3 separate regions of the Homo sapiens genome follow, and regions 1 and 2 are each linked to region 3. The links are contacts of gene promoters, found by promoter capture Hi-C in human tissues and cell types (Jung and others, 2019). All regions are on one chromosome and are shown on one strand. The core of a region is centred on a gene start or on the middle of the fragment in contact, and the rest is flanking DNA. Distances in the headings are between cores, read along the strand shown.

Region 1 (2,786 bases), core at 110-2,609, 35 kb before region 3:
TTTCTGGCTGGACATGGTGGTGCACACCTGTAATCCCAGTACTTTGGGAGGCCGAGGCTGGCAGATCACTTGAGCTCAGTTGTTGGAGACCAGCCTGGCCAACACGGTGAAACCCCGTCTCTACTAAAAATACAAAAATTAGCCATGCGTGGTGGAGGGCACCTGTAATCCCAGCCACTCAGGAGGCTGAGGCACGAGAATTGCTTGAACCCAGGAGGCAGAGGTTGCAGTGAGCCGAGATCACGCCACTGCACTCCAGCCTGGGCAACAGAGCAAGACTCTGTCTCAAAAAAAATAAATAAAAATAAAAAATTAAAAAAAAAATTCAATTTCTTTAATAGATCTAGACCTATTCAGAGTATCTGTTTCTTCTTGTATACATTTTGGTAGGTTTTGTCCTTTAAGTAATTTGTTCATTTCATCTCAATTATCAAATTATAGAATTATTTATAATATTCCTTTATTATCTTTTTAATGTCATTAATGACATTAATGTTTAGTAGTGATAATCCCTCTTTTATTTCTGATATTAGTAATTTGTGTCTTCCCCTTTTTTTTCTTGGTTAGCCTGGCCAGAGTTTTATCAATTTTACTGATGTTTTCTAAGAACCAGCTTTTGGTTTCCTTGATTTTCTCTGTTGATTCCCTGCTTTCAATTTAATTGATTGTTGCTCTAATTCTTATTAGTTCTTTTTTTCTGCCTGCTTTAGGTTTATGTTGCTCTTCTTCCTGTAGTTTCCAGAAACTTGTACCTCTAATCTAAGGCACATGCTTAGATTATTGATTTTATATTTTTCCTATTTTCTGATATGTGCATTCAATGCTATCAATTTCCCTCTAAACATTTGCTGAATCCTACAAGTTTTTATAAGTTGTATTTTCATTTTTGTTTAGTTTAAAATATTTTAAAATTTCTTTTGAGATTTCTTTGACCCATGTGTTATTTAGATGCCTATTGTTTAATCTCCAAATATCTTTTAATTTTCCAGCTATCTTTCCATTATTGATTTTTAGTCTAATTCCATTGTGGTCTTCAGGCTTACTGTGTATGGATTTTTTTTTTTTTTTTTTTTTGAGACGGAGTCTCACTCTGTCGCCCACAGGGAGTGCAGTGGTGCAATCTCAGCTCACTGCAACCTCTGCCTCCCGGGTTCAAGCGAGTCTCCTGCCTCAGCCTCCCAAGTAGCTAGGACTACAGGCGCCCGCCATCATGCCTGGCTAATATTTTTATGTATTTTTAGTAGAGACAGGGTTTCACCATACTGGCCAGGCTGGTCTTGAACTCCTGACCTTGCAATCCGCCCGCCTCGGCCTCCCAAAATGCTGGGATTACAGGCATGAGCCACCAGGCCCGGCTTGCTTTTATTGTTTTAAATGTGATCAGTACTCGGGAGGCTGAGGTAGGAGGATCGCTTAAGGCCAGGAGTTTGAGACCAGCCTGGGCAACATAAGCATCTCTTAAAAATTTTTTGCTCAGGTACTCTGTTAACAATGTCCAGAATGTTGTTTATCTTGGTGAATGTTTCATGTGAGCTTTAGGAGAATATGTATTCTGCTATTGGTGGATGGAGATTCTGTAAATGTCAATTAGATCCAGTTGATTGATGATGCCATAATTCAACTATATCTTTACCGATTTTCTGCCTGCTGCATTTGTCCGTCACTGATAGAAGAGTGTTGATGTTTCCAAGGATAATAATGGGTTTGTCTATTTCTCTTTGCAGTTCTGTTAGTTTTTAACCCACCTATTTTGATGCTCTGTTGTTAGGCACCTATAAACGACTGTTATGTCTTCCTGGAGAATTGACCCCTTTATCATTATGTAATACCATTCTTCATCCCTGATAATTTTCCTTGTTCAGAAATCTACTTTGTCCAAAATTAATATAGCTACTCGAGCTTTCCTTTGATCAGTGTTAGCATGGTATACTTTTTTTTCTTCCTTTAACCTAATGATAACCAGTTGCTGATAGGTAGCTATTCTGAAATGAGGACTTTCTGTCAAGATAGTGATGTTTTATTTTCACTGTGAGCTGGCTTTGTTTCCTGCATAACTATAACAGATTGCTAATTAACATTGATAAATATATCTCATTACTTTTTCCAATCACCATACAGGTTGAGTATCCCTTATTCAAAATACTTGGGGCCAAGCATGGTGGCTAACATCTGTAGTCCCAGCACTTCAGGAGGCTGAAGCAGGAGGATCACTTGAGGCCAGGAGTTTGAGACCTGCCTGAGCAACATAGTGAGACCCCGTCTCTACAAAAAAAAAAAAATTAAATAGCTAGGTATGGTGGCATGTACCTGTAGTCTCAGCTACTCACAGGCTGAGCTATGATTATGCCACTTCACTTCATCCTCAGTGACAGAGCAAGACCCTCTTTAAAAAAAAAAGACAAAAAACCTTGGGGCCAGCAGTGTTTCAGATTTCAGATTTTGGAATATTTGCATTATATCTACTGGTTGAGCATCCCTAATGCAAAAATCAAAAATGCATCCCTAATCCGAAATCAAAAGTGCTCCAATGAGTATTTCCTTTGAACATCATGTTGACACTTAGAAAAGTTTCAAATCTTAGATTTTCAAATTAGGGATACTCAAACTGTATCTTTCCAAAATAAAGCAGTTCTAATTCCACCGCATATTGGGGGCTAAATTTTACCAGTACTGCTTATGTATCCTGCCGTGGTTTTCTAAGTGTGTTATATATTTACAGTTTTGTCTCTTGAAATAGACAATTTTACTCTGGCATAGAGCTATTTATTACTTCTAATGACATGTTG
Region 2 (2,822 bases), core at 41-2,540, 56 kb after region 3:
AAAAAAAAAAAAAAAATTAAGAGTCTTAGTAGCTATAACCTGCTACACACACATCTGCAACTCGGCCGCCCAGCAACTGGGGCCAGAGCCACTGAGTCACAGTAATGCCAGGAACAAGGTAGCTGGGCTCTCCCAGGAGACAGGCAGGATGTATTTCCTCATCTTCCTTAGTGTCTCAACCCCTGGGTATGGCTGCCATTCTGAAGGATTGCATTCTTATCTTTTTTTTTTCCTTTTTTTCTCAGTTATCCAGGCATCTGATGTTGGTAAGGAACTTTGTGAGTTTCTCCCAAGACTTTGGCATGGAGGTAGCATTAGGGGCAGAGAGAGGAGAAGGCGAAGTCATTCTTTGTCAGCTAACTCATGGGAAGGGAAAACAGACTTTCTTTCTCCACTTTTTGCTGGAGTCTCAAAGAAAAGTCAAGTGTGTACTGATATGGGATAAGGCCTGGGATCTCAGGAAGATTAACTGTTGGGTTAGATGATACATGCATCCTGGCCCACCTTCTCGCCCCAACCCTCAGGTTAGGGTTGGTGGATAGTTCTGTCACCGCATTCCTTGGTAAAGAAAAATGGGGCCAGGCTCAAACTGGGGGGTAGAGCATGGGTACCTAAAGGGGGCTGAGTGTAGGAGCCCTGCAGGGGGAATGCTGACTGGAGAGGAAGGTGCCCGATGGAGGGCTGTGTGTCCCATTATTGTCCCCATAGGGGACGTACACGAAGGCTTCAGGACACTAAAAGAAGAAGTTCAGAGAGAGACCCAACAAGTGGAGAAGCTGAGCCGAGTAGGGCAAAGCTCCCTGCTCAGCTCCCTCAGCAAACTTCTAGGGAAGAAAAAGGAGCTACAAGACCTTGAGCTCGCAGTGAGGACCTAGTGGAAGTGGGGAAGGGTGGGAGAAGGCATGTTTTGGTGAAGATTTGGTGGGGGCGGGTATTGCAGCAGGTAGGGAGATCTGACGGGGGCAGGAGGTGGGTGGCCAGGGGAGTCCACCTTAGATACCTTCCCCAAGGCTGGCCACGTGCCCCAAGGCTGCCAGGCCACTGCTCCTCCCTTTGTCCCCTGGAAAAGGGCAAACAGTGGGTTCCCCCAAGGCACATGCTCCCTCTGATGGCCAGAAGGGACTTCTGCTGGAGGGGCTGGAACCTTCTCTTTCCAGAGTCCAAAACTCAGGAAACAAGGAACCCAGGAGTCCAGTACTCTTCAGGACATGAGGCCTCGAAAAAGAAATCAGGAAATGGAGAGAGTTTCCGCATGTCAAGGGGTTATTATGTGCTGGGCCCTGGGTTGGGCCCTTTCCTATGTTATCTTCAATAGTCGCCCACCTTCCCCCACAGCTTGAAGGGGCTCTAGACAAGGGACATGAAGTGACCCTGGAGGCACTCCCAAAAGATGTCCTGCTATCAAAGGAGGCCGTGGGCGCCATCCTCTATTTCGTTGGAGCCCTAACAGGTAAGTGGGGAATAAGGTCTTCATTTATAGACCTTTTCAGTAATAGGAATGAATCACTTGAATCAATTCCCAAATGGATGAATAAATGAATGAATGACAAATTATACCACAGTTAAGTAGTTTATATCTACATTTTTATAAATTGGTTTCATGGCTGGCTGCAGTGGCTCATGCCTGTAATCCCAGCACTTTGGGAGGCCAAGGTGGATGGATCACCCGTGATCAAGAGTTCGAGATCAGCCTGGCCAACATGGTGAAACCCCGCCTCTTCCAAAAATAGAAAAATTAGCCGGGCGTGGTGGCAGGTGCCTGTAATCCCAGCTACTCTGAAGGCTAAGGCAGGAGAATCGCTTGAACCCAGGAGGGGGAGGGTGCAGTGAGCCGAGATCACTCCATTGCACTCCAGCCTGGGCAACAGAGCGAGACTCCATCAAAAAAAAAAAAAATTGGTTTCATTCCTAAGGATTTGCTTGGTCACATTGGGTAGTCTGAGAAGACAGCCTAGTCTTGCTAATAGAGGTTGAATAACCCTAGTTTTATCAGCAACATATTTAAAATTTCTGCATATAGCTAAGCTCATCACTTCTATCCTGATACCTGTTAGCTTTAACTTCAGGGAGTAACATTTTCTTATCTTGCCCCTAAGAGCTCTTCTTCCCTCCACATTTTCTAGTTTTCCACTTAGAAAAACTCTGTGGTCCTTCAGGTGTAAGCCAAAACGTTTGTTCCCTTAGGAAGCCTGCCCTCCGACTCCAAGACCAAAGTGGACCCCTCAGCTATGGCTCCCTTAACACCTGCGTTGTAATTACATCCAATGAATGAAGGCTGAAATTCTGGAAGTGCGCTATTTGGAGGCTGTAGTCCCCTCTGCACCAGCAACACACATCTTTCTCTGCTTTTTTTCTCCAGAGCTAAGTGAAGCCCAACAGAAGCTGCTGGTGAAATCCATGGAGAAAAAGATCCTACCCGTGCAGCTAAAGCTGGTGAGGGAAAAACAGCAGATGCTGGGGAGAGTCTGGGAGTAGCTGCAGCCAGTGGAGATGCAGATTTCGCCTAAGGATGGAGCCATTCTGGAGGATCCCTGTCTTATCCCAGGGGCTTATGCCCACTCCTCCTTTCTCTCTCTATTTCTCATTTTTTGTTATTTCACAAGAGGTAGAAGACTGAATTTCTGGGCAATAATCTGGGTTTATTAGCCTGATCTTGGGAGAAGAGACAGAAACTGTGGCTTTGCTTATTCCTAGCCAAATATTGTAAGCAAATTTTTTTTTTTTTTTTTTTGAGATAGAGTTTCACTCTTTTTGCCCAGGCTGGAGTGCAATGGTGCGATCTTGGCTCACCACAACCTCCGCCTCCCGGGTTCAAGCGATTC
Region 3 (2,700 bases), core at 184-2,683:
GATGGAAGCAGCGGAATCTATCAGCATCAACAAGGCTTCTAACGGCAATCATATCCCCTCCAGCATCCATCTCCTTAACTACAATTCTTGTGATTTCCTCAAATACGCTGAACATTGCGCCTGGACCAACTCAGAAACAGAAGCCAATTTCAGTTTTTGGGAGGAGGGTATTGGTTCAAGTATTTAAATCTTCCACATTTGGCAGCCTGAGGTGTCAGGCCTCTGAACCCAAGCTAAGCCATCATATTCCCTGTGACCTGCATGTATACATCCAGATGGCCTGAAGCAACTGAAGATCCACAAAAGAAATGAAAATAGCCTTAACTGATGACATTCCACCATTGTGATTTGTTCCTGCCCCACCCTGATACAATATAGTCTCCCCGCCGCCGCCCTTAAGAAGGTACTTTGTAATATTCTCCCCTGCCCTTAAGAAGGTACTTTGTAATATTTCTCCACCCTTGAGAATGTACTTTGTAAGCCTATCCCAAACATATAAGAACTAATGATAATGCCACCACCCTTTGCTGACCCCTTTTTTGGACTCAGCTTGCCTGCACCCAGCCTTGTTGCTCATATAAAGCCCGTTTCGTGGACTCTCTTCACATGGACGCACGTGACATGAGGTCAAGGAAGAGCCAAAGGTTCCAGGACAATCAGTACCTGGAATGATTTGCCTGCCTTACTTCTAGAACGTGAGGCAGCCATGACTCAGTAAAGAGGGCTAAACATCACAGATCCCAGATTCTCCTCTGCCCCTCATGGTACCCATCTGGAGGAAAAAAGTAGCAGCTATTGCCCCAAATAGAGAAAGTGAGACCCATTTTCTACATCTCCCACAGCAGAGTTGCCCCCTTGTTCCAAGGGGCCCAAGGGATGGAAAGGCAGGCCCACCATGCCCCAGCCAGACTAGCCCCAACGTTGATGAACAGAGGAACCAGGGAGGAATGACGGGCACGGTTGCCAGACTTCACATTACTAACCTCAACTGGTCGTTTCTTCCCTTGGCTCTGATTCTTGGGCTCCCTGCCTTGCTGTATTCTGCAAGGCAATTGGATGGGTGCCTCCCTACCAACAATTTCCCAATGAGGTGGTGGTAAATTGGCCTCAGAAGAAACAAAAGCTTCCTGGGATCCACTTCCCCATCCTACCTTTGGCCACCTTCCCCTATATCCCTTCTGCCCAGCACAGGCACTTATCCACTCACTGCTTCCTCCTCTGTCTCTGGCCCCATCATGGTGGTTGACTCTCAGTTCACTACCAACCTGGGAATTCTAGGTGTCTGGAAAGACAGTACCCGGGAACCACAGGCCCATCTCAAGTGGTACCCACCTCCTCTCTGACCTCAGCTGTTCACCAGAAATGGAAGTTGTGAGAATCCCCACAGATCTCTGCACAGTTCCTGGCCTCTGAATCTCAGGAAGCTAAAATAATGAAACTGAAAGTTGTCCAGGTGTGGAACTTCCTGGACGGGTGGGTAGGGCTGGGTGCCCCACCTCCCAAGCCTTTAGATAAGCCACCTTATAACTGAGCTGGAGGCAGATTAAGGCCAGAACCCCCCTTTTTTTTTTTTTTTTGAGACGGAGTCTTGCTCTATCGCCGAGGCTGGAGTGCAATGGCGCAATCTCGGCTCACTGCAAGCTCCGCCTCCCAAGTTCACGCCATTCTCCTGCCTCAGCCTCCCGAGTAGCTGGGACTACAGGTGCCTGCCACCACGCCCAGCTAATTTTTTTGTGTGTGTTTTTTAGTAGAGACGGGGTTTCACCGTGTTAGCCAGGATGGTCTCAATCTCCTGACCTTGTGACCCACCCACCTCGGCCTCTCAAAGTGCTGGGATTACAGGTGTGAGCCACCATGCCCGGCCAGAACCCCTTCTTCTTCTTGTACCTAAGGAGTGGGTAGGAGATCCTGGTATGTATTCTAGGTGAGTGTGGGCCAGACAATGGTGCACACCGTGGCGCCCTGGGCCATGCAATCCAGTGTGTTTGGAATAGAGAAATGGAATATGAGTAGGTATCAAGTGCCAGCAGGCAATGGCTGTGTCTGTGCCAGGGACATGAGGACCATAACCCAGCAGAACCAGCTGCCCAAATGCCATGCGACGGTCAACACTGAAGACCCAGGACAACAGCAGCTAACACCTGGAGGCAACAGGGTGGGCCTGTAAGGAGCACTCAGCCTCCCTCCCCATCTCGTGCTCCCGTGTACACTCTCAAGGAGATGCTGGTCTTCCTTATCTGGATGCCATCTGGCTTCTCCACCTACCTCCTTCTCCAGGGAGAGGCCTCTGACCTCACCCATGTCCTCTCTCAGAGATAACCACCCCGGTGAGCCCAGCCTGTCTTCCAGCCTCTGCATGCCTCAGTTCTGAAAGAACATTTGAAGGGATGACAGGCCAGGCGTGGTGGTTCATGCCTGTAATCCCAACACTTTCAGAGGCCGAAGCAGGCAGATCACTTGAGGCCAGGAGTTCAAGACCAGCCTGGCCAACATGGCGAAACCCCGTCTCTACCAAAAAAAAAAAAAAAAAAAAAATTAGCCAGATGTTTTGGCACACACCTGTAATCCCAGCTACTCAGGAGGCTGAGGCATGAGAATTGCTTGAACCTGGGAGGCGGAGGTTGCAGTGAGCCAAGATGGTGCCACTGCACTCCAGCCTGGGCAACAGAGCAAGACTCAGTCTCAAAAAAATAAATAAAT

Evidence for each region. The method cuts DNA at HindIII sites, captures the fragments that hold promoters and counts their contacts. A contact is called where the count stands out against the background at its distance.
Region 1: a contact is called between a fragment that was not itself captured here and the fragment with the promoter of GSDMB in region 3, in 2 of the 25 tissues and cell types used here (lymphoblastoid cells and thymus).
Region 2: a fragment that was not itself captured here is called in contact with the fragment with the promoter of GSDMB in region 3 in 3 of the 25 tissues and cell types used here (lymphoblastoid cells, ovary and spleen).

Annotation. Positions count from the first base shown.
Region 1 is chr17:39,881,822-39,884,607 of GRCh38, forward strand. No RefSeq gene overlaps it. Among named protein-coding and RNA genes, the nearest start is that of ZPBP2, 15 kb to the left of the region's middle. The HindIII fragment of the contact is 8,844 bases long and covers 1-2,786 here.
Region 2 is chr17:39,973,565-39,976,386 of GRCh38, forward strand. GSDMA (gasdermin A) reads left to right here. Exons shown (of 12, transcript NM_178171.5): 8 at 246-266; 9 at 709-863; 10 at 1,336-1,450; 11 at 2,360-2,433. Among named protein-coding and RNA genes, the nearest start is that of PSMD3, 5.8 kb to the right of the region's middle. The HindIII fragment of the contact is 7,168 bases long and covers 1-2,822 here.
Region 3 is chr17:39,917,202-39,919,901 of GRCh38, forward strand. It overlaps GSDMB (gasdermin B), which reads right to left and starts at 1,434. Exons shown (of 11, transcript NM_001165958.2): 1 at 1,333-1,434; 2 at 1-129. The coding sequence starts at 115. RefSeq lists promoters at 34-663, 214-622, 1,346-1,708 and a cis regulatory region at 1,687-1,700. The HindIII fragment of the contact is 12,682 bases long and covers 1-2,700 here.